Regions from separate parts of the Homo sapiens genome. Here regions 2, 3 and 4 are each linked to region 1. Evidence: promoter capture Hi-C in human tissues and cell types (Jung and others, 2019). All regions are on one chromosome and are shown on one strand. Each heading gives the region's core, a stretch centred on a gene start or on the middle of the fragment in contact. The rest is flanking DNA. Distances are from core to core; before and after follow the strand shown. Region 1 holds the start of KREMEN2 (kringle containing transmembrane protein 2). Region 2 holds the start of ABCA3 (ATP binding cassette subfamily A member 3). Region 3 holds the start of C16orf90 (chromosome 16 open reading frame 90). Region 4 holds the start of CCNF (cyclin F).

What was found. The method cuts DNA at HindIII sites, captures the fragments that hold promoters and counts their contacts. A contact is called where the count stands out against the background at its distance.
Region 2: the fragment with the promoter of ABCA3 here is called in contact with the fragment with the promoter of KREMEN2 in region 1 in 5 of the 25 tissues and cell types used here (aorta, heart right ventricle, mesenchymal stem cells and 2 more).
Region 3: the fragment with the promoter of C16orf90 here is called in contact with the fragment with the promoter of KREMEN2 in region 1 in 1 of the 25 tissues and cell types used here (spleen).
Region 4: a contact is called between the fragment with the promoter of CCNF here and the fragment with the promoter of KREMEN2 in region 1, in 2 of the 25 tissues and cell types used here (heart left ventricle and lymphoblastoid cells).

The regions. Positions count from the first base shown.
Region 1 is chr16:2,962,977-2,965,574 of GRCh38, reverse strand. KREMEN2 (kringle containing transmembrane protein 2) reads right to left here and starts at 1,300. Exons shown (of 9, transcript NM_172229.3): 1 at 961-1,300; 2 at 542-716. The coding sequence starts at 1,054. RefSeq lists enhancers at 1-483, 2,452-2,581, 2,068-2,598 and silencers at 282-651, 722-971, 1,502-1,581, 2,132-2,261, 2,292-2,371. The HindIII fragment of the contact is 31,540 bases long and covers 1-2,598 here.
Region 2 is chr16:2,339,448-2,342,045 of GRCh38, reverse strand. ABCA3 (ATP binding cassette subfamily A member 3) reads left to right here and starts at 1,318. Exons shown (of 33, transcript NM_001089.3): 1 at 1,318-1,473. It also overlaps the pseudogene ABCA17P. RefSeq lists silencers at 1,008-1,467, 1,638-1,697. The HindIII fragment of the contact is 11,234 bases long and covers 1-2,598 here.
Region 3 is chr16:3,494,167-3,496,764 of GRCh38, reverse strand. It overlaps C16orf90 (chromosome 16 open reading frame 90), which reads left to right and starts at 1,276. Exons shown (of 3, transcript NM_001080524.2): 1 at 1,276-1,389; 2 at 1,888-2,241. The coding sequence starts at 1,344. It also overlaps a transcript of CLUAP1 not described here and the pseudogene RPL18P12. The HindIII fragment of the contact is 9,668 bases long and covers 519-2,598 here.
Region 4 is chr16:2,428,150-2,430,747 of GRCh38, reverse strand. CCNF (cyclin F) reads right to left here and starts at 1,301. Exons shown (of 17, transcript NM_001761.3): 1 at 1,251-1,301. The coding sequence starts at 1,266. RefSeq lists silencers at 926-975, 986-1,835 and enhancers at 2,046-2,225, 1,661-2,240. The HindIII fragment of the contact is 14,340 bases long and covers 1-2,598 here.

The DNA of each region.
Region 1 (2,598 bases), core at 51-2,550:
TGGTCTCGAACTCCTGACCTCAGATGATCCGCCTGCCTTGGCCTCCCAAAGTGCTGGGATTACAGGCTGAGCCACCGCGCCTGGCCTCCAACCCCACTTAAAAGCAGAAGTGAGCTCCTGAGCTTTGCGGCTCTCCTCCCGCTGGGTCCATCCTGCCTCAGACCGTAGCTGTGGCTCTGAACCCCAAAATAAGTTGTATGACAAGAGCCCCACTCTGACAAGGCCCCGCCCATTCGGCCCCCGCTCTGACCAGGCCCCGCCCATACGGGTCCTTTGAGTGCCCAGGTCCGTTTCTCTCCTGGCCCTGAACTGGAGCTCTGCAGAAATTGTTCACCTGAGGAGGATCCCTTTTGCGCCAGGGTTCCGCGCGCCCCGCCCCGCCCCGCCCCGCCCCTCATTCTGGCCCCGCCCCCAGGTTCTCCAGGAGGCTGGGCTGCCAGTCCACGGCAGACCTCCACCCCGCCCGCACGGAGGCCCCGCTTCGGGCCATCCCTGCAATGGTGAGCCCAGCCTCGCCCCCAGCGCAGGCCCCGCCCCTCACCGGCAGAAGTTGTGCGCGCCCAGCCCCCAGCGGCCGTGGGGGTCGCTGGCGCTGCTGTAGCTGTGTTGCTGCGTCTGGTCCCAGAAGAGGCACGGGCGGCCCGCCCCGCGCGGGCCAGTGCGGTTCTGGTGGCCGCGGTAGTCAGCCCCATTCACCTGGAAGCATTCGGACAGGCCTGCACGGCAAAGGCAGGGCCTGGGGAGGTCCGGACCCACGCCGGGCATCCTCGCGCCCCTACGCCACCTCCCGCCTGGGTCCCCAGCCAGCGACCCCGCACCCGCCCCTGCAGGAGCCCTCGGGCTGCTCAGCTGCTCCGGCCACCTGCTCTGTCCCCCTCCCTAGCCTTGGGGGCCTGGCCCTGGGGGCGGAGGCCGAGGAAGGGGTGGTGAACACGGCCCGACAGCCGTGCGGGGACTTACCTGGACTGTGCAGGCTCCCAGCCGAGGCCCCACGCGGCTGCAGCAGCGGGAGGAAGAGGAGAAAGAGGAAGCCCTGCAGGGCTTGTGTCCCCATCGCTCTCAACCAAGGATAGGTCACCCTCGCCCGGACACGGCCCGGGCTGCCCCCGGGGTCGCTTCGGGGTCTCCCAGGAGACCTAGGGGGCGTTGTCCTCTGACAGTCTCCCCTCGTCCGACTCTGAGCCGCGCTTTCCGTCTGGGGTGGGTAAATCTCTCCTGGGGGTCTTTGCCTCCCAGGGCCTCTGCCCCTAGAGGCGTCTCTCTGTCCCTGTCCCTACCCGGGTCTCTCCGGGGGGAATCTGGCCGGGGGCGTTCTCAGTCTCTGTCTCAGCGAGCTCTGGGCGGTGCCTCAGCCTCTACGCCCGCCCCCTCCCACTGAGCCTAGCTCTCGGCGTCTCCCTCGCCCAGGTCTCCAACGGGCTGACTCCTGCCCGCCTCGCATCCCTCCGTGGGTCCCTCCCCCTGGGTCTCTCCCTCCCCCCATGGGAGGCCGGGAAGCCCCGCCCAGCACTGGAGCGGAGGCAGCAGGTCCAGACGCCTCCCACGCCCGTTCCCCCGACCCCGGGCGTCCAGCGCTTCCCGGCCCCCTCTCCCTCAGGTCGGTGCCGGTTCAAGTGGGAAGGTGTGGAGGGGGACAGGCGGGGCAAGCGGACGGAAGGCCCTTAAAATGGGAGATACAGAACCCCCTCACGTGGTCGCACGCGCCCCAGGACACCCGGAATGTCCGAGTTACAAGCGCCCTCCTCCCAGTGCACGCACGCGCTCGCACTCTCTCCCATTCATTGCCAGGCGCTCACGCGCACACTTTCTTCGGATCCGCACGCCCCTCCCGCCCCTGGTCCAGATGCCGCTGGCCTGACGGAGGAAGCTCCACTCCCTGCCCCCGCGCCCACGAGACAGGCGGGAGTCGTGGACGCTCAGTCCGGGACAGGCAGGGGCAGCTGGTGTCTGGGGAGAAAGGCAGCTGCGCCCCAGGTCCCAGTCTGTCCCCTCCTCCTCCCCCTGCCCCGCCCTTCCCTGGGACCCCCAGCCCAGACTCTCCCGAGCCTTCACACTGCAGTGGAATTCCCCCAGCCGTGCCCCCCACCTGGCGGGGGAGGGGGAGGGGAGCAGGCCCAGGCAGGCGTGGGGGGAAATTCCCCGCCCCCTCCCCCTGGGCCCGACTCCTCCGAGTCCTCTGATCTCCCAGCGCCACCCGCCCGCTGCCCCCAGGGCTTGGGGGGAGGCCAGCGCAGGTGCGTGGGAGGGCGGAGGCGGGGGCCGGGGGAAGGAACTGGTGGGGGCCGGGCGCCCAGAGCGGCCCCGCCCCGCCCAGACCTCTTTGCCCCTCAGTCCAGCCTGCCCAGCCCGCACCAGGCCCTCGCCAAGCTGTCGAGCCCAGGCCGACCAGTCCCCGCCCTGCAGCCCCCACACCGTCTCTGCCCCGGTGTCGATGGAGAAGAAAGATGGGGTTCAGGGAGGTTCTGTCAGGCCCAGGCACCCACTGCGGTGCTGGGACCCGCGAGGATCTTCCAGCTGGCGCCTCACGCGAGTGTGCTCTGGAGGAGGGGCGTGGAGCCGAGGTGGGGGCATTTGAAGGAGATGGACTTGCTGAGACTC
Region 2 (2,598 bases), core at 69-2,568, 620 kb after region 1:
CCGGCAGCAGCCCTCCCTCACCCGGGGCGCCGGGACCACGGACGCACCTCACTGTGGTCCGGCCGCTGGCGGCGCTCGGGGACCCATTGGCCCCGGCCCGCGGCAACTGTCGGCCCCGCGCGGCGCCCGCCCTCATGCTGGAGCCCGGGAGTCCCTCACTCCACCTCTCCCTGCCACGCCAAGGGGGCCCGCCCCTCCCAGGCTCTCCTGCCTGGGGCGACCCAGTCCCACGACCCGGTCCGGCCCAGGGACACCCCGACCCACCTCCCCACTCCCGTCCCGTTAGACCGCGACCCGTCCCTGGGACCGCCTAATGTGACACGCCCGGGACCCTCCCTGCAGGCGACTCCCTGCAGGGCCCCCGCCCTGGACACTCCCTCCAGGTGACCCCGTTCCGCTCGCTCCGTGAGGTGACCCCGACCCTCTCCGGACCACCTCCTCAGGTGACCCCGACCCTCTCCGGACCCTCCCCGACCCTCCCCTCAGGTGAACCCGACCCTCCCCGGACCATCCCGTCGGGTGACCCCAACCATCCCCGAACCCCCCCACCCTCCCCTCAGGTGACCCCGACCCTCTCTGGACCCTCCTCACAGGCGGCCCCGCCCCACCCCGGGACCCTCCCGCCAGGTGACCCCGACAAGGCCGGGCCCTCCTGCCTGAGGTGACTCCTACCCGGCTGGGGACCCCCGAGGCCTCCCTCGCTCCTTAAGTGAGGGCGACTCCGCTCATCCCGGGACACCGCGCCTTCTCCTGTAAACTCGACGCCTGCCCCGACGGCCGAATTCCAGAAGGTTCCTCGCCGCCGCCTCGCCTTCGGTCGCGCCCCAGCGCCCGGCCAGAGGCGGGGAAGCCCTTCCCCCGGTGCCAGGAGTGACGAGGGCCCAAGGAAAGACAGTGCGTGAGGAGAAATGGAGAAACGGCCAAAGTCGAGTTTCCGGGTGTGAAGACTTCCACTGCTGCGAAACGCACGTGCGCAGAGTCATTCCTGTCAGAGGCCACCGCGCCCTCGCTCGGCTACCGCCGCTGCGCGCCCCCTGCTGGACATAGGCGCGGGCACAGAGCAGTGCGCAAGCACGGGCTGCCGCGCGGCCGGGTGCGAACCGCGTACTCGCAGGGTGGCTGACTGCGCACGCGCAAGTCAGAGCGCCCTCTGCCGGGCATGGGCGACATGCAGGGGGCACCGCGCAGGCGCGGGGTTGGGCTGGCCGGAGCGGCCGAGGCGGCCGGGGGTGGACCGGGCACCTGCAGGGGCGGCCGACTGCGCACGCGCCATCCGCGGCGCCCCCTGCAGGAGCCGGAGCGGCCGCTGCGTCCGCCAGTAGCGGGTTGCAGGCGCACCCTCCCCTCCAGGGCGGCCACGCAGCTGTCAGTGCCGCCGCCACTGCGAGGCTGGAGCGGAGCCCGGGTGGCCGAGGGAGGGGACCCCGCGAGAGGGCCGCGCGCCGGCCGCCGCCGCCCCGGCGCCCAGGCTCGGTGAGTGCCGCCGGGACCCGCCGCTCGCGCGCTCGTTCCCGGGGCTTGCGGTCCCCACCCGGGTCCGCCCTTCCCACCCTCGCCGGCCAGCTCGGGCCTCGGGCCCCCCCCAGCTCCGGCCTGGCCTGCGGGCCCCTCCCGCGACCCCGCATCCCCTCCGGCCGCGCCCGCGCCCGCCCCTCCTGCCGCGGCCTCGGCTCCGGGCGCTCCCTGCAGGTGCCGCTCCCTCAGCGTCGGCTCCCATCCGAGCCTTGGGCGTGTCCCGCACTGCGGGCAGTGCCTGAGCCCGCGCCGCGCGGGGAAGCTCGACCCTGCGGAGACTCGGCACGGCCCGGGCCCTCTGTGTGCGCCCAGAAGGTGGATATGTAGCGACCGACAGCCCCGGCCCCGAGGGATGCAGGCGTCCGCCGCGCACTTGCGGAGATGGCGCCGCTTTCCGGCCGCAGGGATGCCGGGCGCGCGGTGGCAAAGCCGCCCGGGTTGGATTCCGCCTGCTCCCACCCTCTGGTTCCGAGGAGCCTCCAAATCCGAATCCAAGGCCCACGGTCCGCGGCGGGCGTTTGCTGCGCCCTCCACTGTGTGGGAACGGGAAAGGGGAGCCGCTAGTCCAGGCGGAGGGGCTTGTGGCAGTCGCCGGAGGCCGCGTTCTCGGCGCCCTCGGTCAGGACGCCTGTGTGCATCGCGTCCGTGTGTCTTGGCTCTGTTCCAAGCCGGCTCCACGCTTCAGAAGGGCCGGGACGGCCTTATGGTCAGGGGCGTGGGGAAGGCGCTTGGTGTCTGTCGCACAGATGAAGCCATGTCCTCAGGGGGTAATTGCCGCTTGTTCTCCGGGTTACGTCCTGGACTGTGCACTCCGGGAAGGCGTCGATTGGATCTTGTTGGGGTTTGTGTTCCTGGAACTCCAGAAATGCCCGCTGAGTGAGTAGCCGAGACCCCGCGACAGCATGGAGCCCAGGCAGGGAGCACGTGGGAGAGGTTCACTCTTCTCCTGGGCATCCCGTCATTTTATTCAGATAGTCTGGGCGCTGCCTTTTGTAAACTTGAAAAGACTAAGACTGTTTTAGAAAGTTTGCCTCATGAGAAATGTAAGAGAAAGGGAAAAATAGATAAAAATGGATGTCATGG
Region 3 (2,598 bases), core at 27-2,526, 530 kb before region 1:
TTGTAGCCTCGGCTGGCCCGTAGGCCTCTGGCGCGCTCGAACTTCTGGTCCCTGGAGCGGAAATAGCGTTTGGTGTGGCTGTGTGGGGTTCCCAGGGCCTTGCCGAAATGCCGGTACACCTGTCGGCCCTTGCGAAGACCGGAGAGTAGGACGGGGCCGCCGTCCTTGAGGGAGTCCAGGGCCAGCTGATCGAAAGTCAGGATCTTGGCCCCCACCCTGAGGATGCCGCTGTGGGCCGGCTGGTCACGGGCAGCGCACACACCTTAAGTTTGGGCACCTCCTGAACCCTCGCGTCATCCGTTAAGCGTCCCCACAACCACGGCCGTTTTGTTTTCCCAGCCAGGAAGCTTCATCTTCCGGATCATCCGGGAAACGGACAGAGGTGGCCGGTTGGTGCGACTCATAAACAACCTCTTCAGCACAACCTGGTTGAATGTGGAGTTAGTTCGTCTGGACGGTAACCTGTACAGCTTGACCAACAAACAGCCTCAGTTAGATATCCTGGCTCTTGGGCTCTTTGCGCCGAACCTTTAGGTCCTTCTTGTGGCGGACGTCAGCTCCCATGATGGCGCTTCCTGCTTGGCCAGGTCCGGAAAGATGAATGTTTAACTTTTTTTTTTTTTTGAGACGGAGTCTCGCTCTGCAGCCCAGGCTGGAGTGCAGTGGCGCGATCTGGGCTCACTGCAAGCTTCGCCTCCCGGGTTCACGCCATTCTCCTGCCTCAGCCTCCTGAGTAACTGGGACTACAGGCTCCCGCCACGACGCCCGGCTAATTTTTTTGTATTTTTAGTAGAGACGGGGTTTCACCGTGTTAGCCAGGATGGTCTCGATCTCCTGACCTCATGATCCGCCCACCCCGGCCTCCCACAGACCTCAACTGATCAGCCTGCCTCGGCCTCCCACAGTGCTGGGATTACAGGCATGAGCCACCGCCCCCAGCCCCTTTTCAGCATTTTCAAAGTACCGACCTAGGTCTTCCTAGGTCTGTACTCCTGAACCCTCATTTCCCACCCCAGATGAGGAAGCTGGCCCCAAGAGATCACCTGAGAGAAGGACTCTCCAGTTTGCCAGAGCTGTCTGTTTTATGTGGCCTGACCCCAGCCAGAGGGACCAGGGACTTCCCCCAGGGTTCTGGCCCCTTCCCATGCCTTTCTTTCACCCTGCCCTTGCCTTGGGCACTGTCCTCTCCCAAACTAGGGGTCCAGGAAGGCTGGGAGTCTTCCCCGTGATGTCATAAGAACCAGTTGCCAGGGGAGACCTGCCAATGTACCCCCTAGGCAGGGGAGAGCAGGGCCCTGCTGCACCCAAGTCCTGGTTGCTCCTCCCCACCACACTGGCCCTCCATGGAAGCCTTGGTCTGTGCATTTTCTGAGCTGCACATAAGAGAAGGTGCCGGGCTGTGGGGAGGAGTGGCAGGAAGAGAGATAGGCTTCTGTCCCCACCTGGGCCCAAAGCCGAGGGGTGGCCTCAGGGACATGTATGCTTGGGAGAGGGGAATGGCCACTGGGCCAGGCCATGAGCCCCTGGGCTGGCCACTTTCTCTCAAACCCACTGTGCAATTTCTCTGTGGGGACCAGAATACTCTTCCTAGGGTAGCGGGCAGAACAGGGTAGTAGAAAGGACTTGAGGTCCTGAAAGCACTCTTAGTACCAAGGCCCGAGGCTTCCCAGGCCTCCCTGTTGGTTGGGAGTGGGAAGAGGAGTCGTGTCTTGGGCATGGGCAGGGGAGGCAGTGGACTGAGACTATTTGACACACAGGTAAACTGAGGCCAGGTTGGCTGGGGGTGTAGCCCATCATGTGAGCTGGTCTCAGAGGTATGTGACTGCACCCTCCCCTCATGGCTGCTGTGGGGGGCTGGCCACCACCCTCCCGCTGTCTCCTCTGCAGATGCAGTGAGCCAGGCCCAAGGACGCCCCGGCCACCCTGACGCACCCCCCAACATCTACGAGGGGGGCCTGGGGTCCCCGCAGCCGCAGTGCCCCAGTGCCCAGGGAAGCAAGCCCAAGAACTTCCGGCTGCGCCACCTCCGGGGCCTGGGCCTCTACCTGGAGAGCCACCCGCCACCCACTGGCCAGTGTGAGAGCCACTGGCTGGGCCGGCTTATGGCTGGGGGCTGCCTGCCACAGCCTGAGGGCACAGCCTGGGCCCTGGACCTGCCACAGGGGACTCTGGGCCCACGTAACAGCCTCTGTTCAGCCCTTCTGGAAGCCCGATTGCCCAGGGACAGCCTGGGAAGCAGTGGTGAGCTCTGTCAAGGCAGGACTGGGCACGGGGGAAGACCCTAGGGGATGGTTGGGCTGGGGCCTCAGGCGGGCCCTTCTCCACTCCCAAGCCTCCACAGTGGCACCATGCCCCAGAAGGCCAAGATCTTGATGAATCTGTCCCCATCTCTGCATCACGCACAGCTAAGCGGGGTCTGGAGAATCCACCAGGGACAAAGCGGTGCGAGAAAAAGGGAGGATCTGGGAGGGAGGGCTGGGTGACTGCCCCAGCTCCACACTCGGTGAGGGGCCTTGGAATCTGTCTCCCTTGCTGGGCCTCAGTTTTCTCACTTGTAAAATGAGGGTTCAGGTTAGATGAGGGTCCTTCCAGCTTGAA
Region 4 (2,598 bases), core at 52-2,551, 530 kb after region 1:
TGGATAGCTTTGCTTTTTGCACACGTGACCAAGGTGCATAATGTTCAATAAAGATCTGTGGGCTTGAAGAGTCTGGTTTTCAAGTCCAAATTAGAAGGGTCGGCCCTGGAGAGAAGCCACAGACTTGGAGGCCGGGGCAGTGTGCGTCCAAGTCTCAGCTCTGCAGAGTCTCAGTGTGCCCTCTATTGTAGAATGCGGAGTTGACAGCTACGCAGTAAGGTTGTTGCTCAGGTCCCAACACAAACCTAGACCTGTAGGTTTGTGTACAGATGCAATCATTAAAGGTGAGACGGGCATTCCACCCACCAGGCAGGCAGCCCGGACATGCTTCTCAGATGTGCTCTCTCCTCTTCCCACAGCCGGATTTTCCAACTCCTACTCCAGCAACCCCTTCCTCACTCTAAGCAGATGACCTTAGCCCTTATTTCACAGGGAAACAGAAGCCCTCAGACAGGAACCTCAGGATCCTGCCTCCCCATCTACAAATCTACCTTTCTATCCATCCTTCCTTCCAGTCCTGAAAGGAAGCGCCACTCCCCTCTGTGGGCCCAAATCCCTCCCCGCCTTGCTAGGACTTCCTAGCGATTGCTCCCGGCTCCCCTCTCTTGACCGGGGTCTTCCTGTTAGCAATTAAATCAGCTGCAAAAGCCAAACGTATTCCAGGGCGACGAATTCTCAAAGATTCTATAGACCTCTCCATAAAATATTCCTCATTCTCCGGCTCCAGGACAGATACTATGATAATAGCTGAAACCACAGTTCGTGTTTCCTGTGCCTCAACGCGCGCGGGGCCGAACGCTGCTTTCCACAGAGCTAGGTCCACGGCCCCGCTGGACTGAGGCTCGGTCAGGGCCCGGCCGGGCTGCGGGATCGCTTCGCCCCCACGCGCTCCGCAGCCCTTTCCCCGACCAGGAGGCGCTGGTGTTTGGCTCCCCGAGACCCGATCGCCGCCCCGGGACCCGATCGCCGGATCGCTGCCCCGGGACCCGATCGTTGCCCCAGGAAAGGGCCGGAAAACGTCGCCGCGGGGGAAGGCTCCGAGGGGCTCGGGCGCCCGCCGGGCATTTAAACCGCGCGCCCGGCCGCCGGGGCTCCCTGCGCGGGACGCGACATCCGCCCCGGGTTAAAGAGCTCGAGCCAGCCCTCTTCAGGCCGCCAGGGCCTCCCCTCCCGCGGGACCCACCGTCCGCCCCGCAGGGCAGGCAGAAGGGGTGTGGGGCAGAAACCAGCGGACATCGCCCCGCACTCACCGCCGCCGCTCCCCATCGCCGCGCTCGCGTCGCTGCCGCCGGAGCCCGCCTGAGAGCGCGCCCGCGCCCCGGCCGGAGCGCGCGTAGCCCTCGCGCAGGCGCAGACCCCGCCCCGCCGCCCACCCCAGTTTTCAAACGCACCCGGCCCTCCCATTGGCCTGCCCGGGGGGGCCGCCGCCGGCCCCGCCCATGTCCCGCCCTGTGCTCGCCTCATTTACCGCCCTCCACGCCCTCCCCGCCTGCTCCGGGACCCGCCATTGGCCGCGCCAGGACGCGAATTCGAACATTGGCCGCTGATTGGTGGAACCCGCGTGGCCGCCCCGCCTCCCCAACGGGGCTGGGGTCCCGTAGGAGCGCTTCCCGGCCGGCGGGCAGGGGTTTGTGGGCGTCCCCTCCCGGCCGCATGGGTTCGGGCTTCGCCGCTGACCCCGGCGACCGGCATCTGCGGTGCCAGATGGGCTGCGAAGGCGCACGCCTGCGGCCAGGGGAAAGAGGACTCCTTGGCGTCCCTCGCAGTCGCGGCCGTGATCCAGCCTGGGACAGCCTCGACGTGGCGCTTCTAAGACGAGGCCGTGCCCTGCCCGGGTCCCGGGGTCGCTCCTGGGCCCGCGACCCTCACCCCCAGCTTGCACGGCCTTCCCTTCCGCCGCCTGCTTCAGGTGGAGACCCTTGGGTTTGTGGCTGAGCCGCTGCTGGGCGGGGATGCTGGCCGGGATCGTGGTAGAGAAAGAGGAGGTCGGAGCTGACGCTGGGAAGTCTCCCCCGCGGAACGCTGACCCCTTCTTCCCGCGAAACGTGGCGCACCCTGGACGCCTCAGTGCTCCAGCCCCGGGGCAAGCCCTCCCCATCACTTTGGCCAGATGCTGCCCCCTGTCTGGCCTCCTCGGCTGCTACCTGGAGCTGCTCGCCGCGGGAAGTGTCGTATCTGCTCACTCTTGTCTTGGGCAGTGCCCATCTGAGCTGTCCTTCAGGAGTCAGCCACACCGCACCCCTTTTACGGCACAGGCTGTCAAGGGGAAGACTCGCAGCCTCCTGACTGTCTGGTGGAGGACAGAGGGGGCTTTTCCTGGGGAAGGCAGGGGCCTGGGCCAAGGCTGCCCACCCCTCCCTCACGCTTCCCTCAGTCTGCACCCTTCCATCCTTCCGGGTCCCCATAGAACTCCTTCAAGTACTGGGCCTGCCCTGGGCACACAGACAGGAGCCCTGGCGTGCAGGCTTCAGCCGGCCTGGGGCAAGAGACAGAGTAAACAGGTGATCACAGCACAGGGTACAGAAGAGTCCGTGGCCCCAGAGAGGGTCTGGAAGTTGGGAATATTCCCTGTCCCGGAATCAGGAAGCGGGTGAAGGA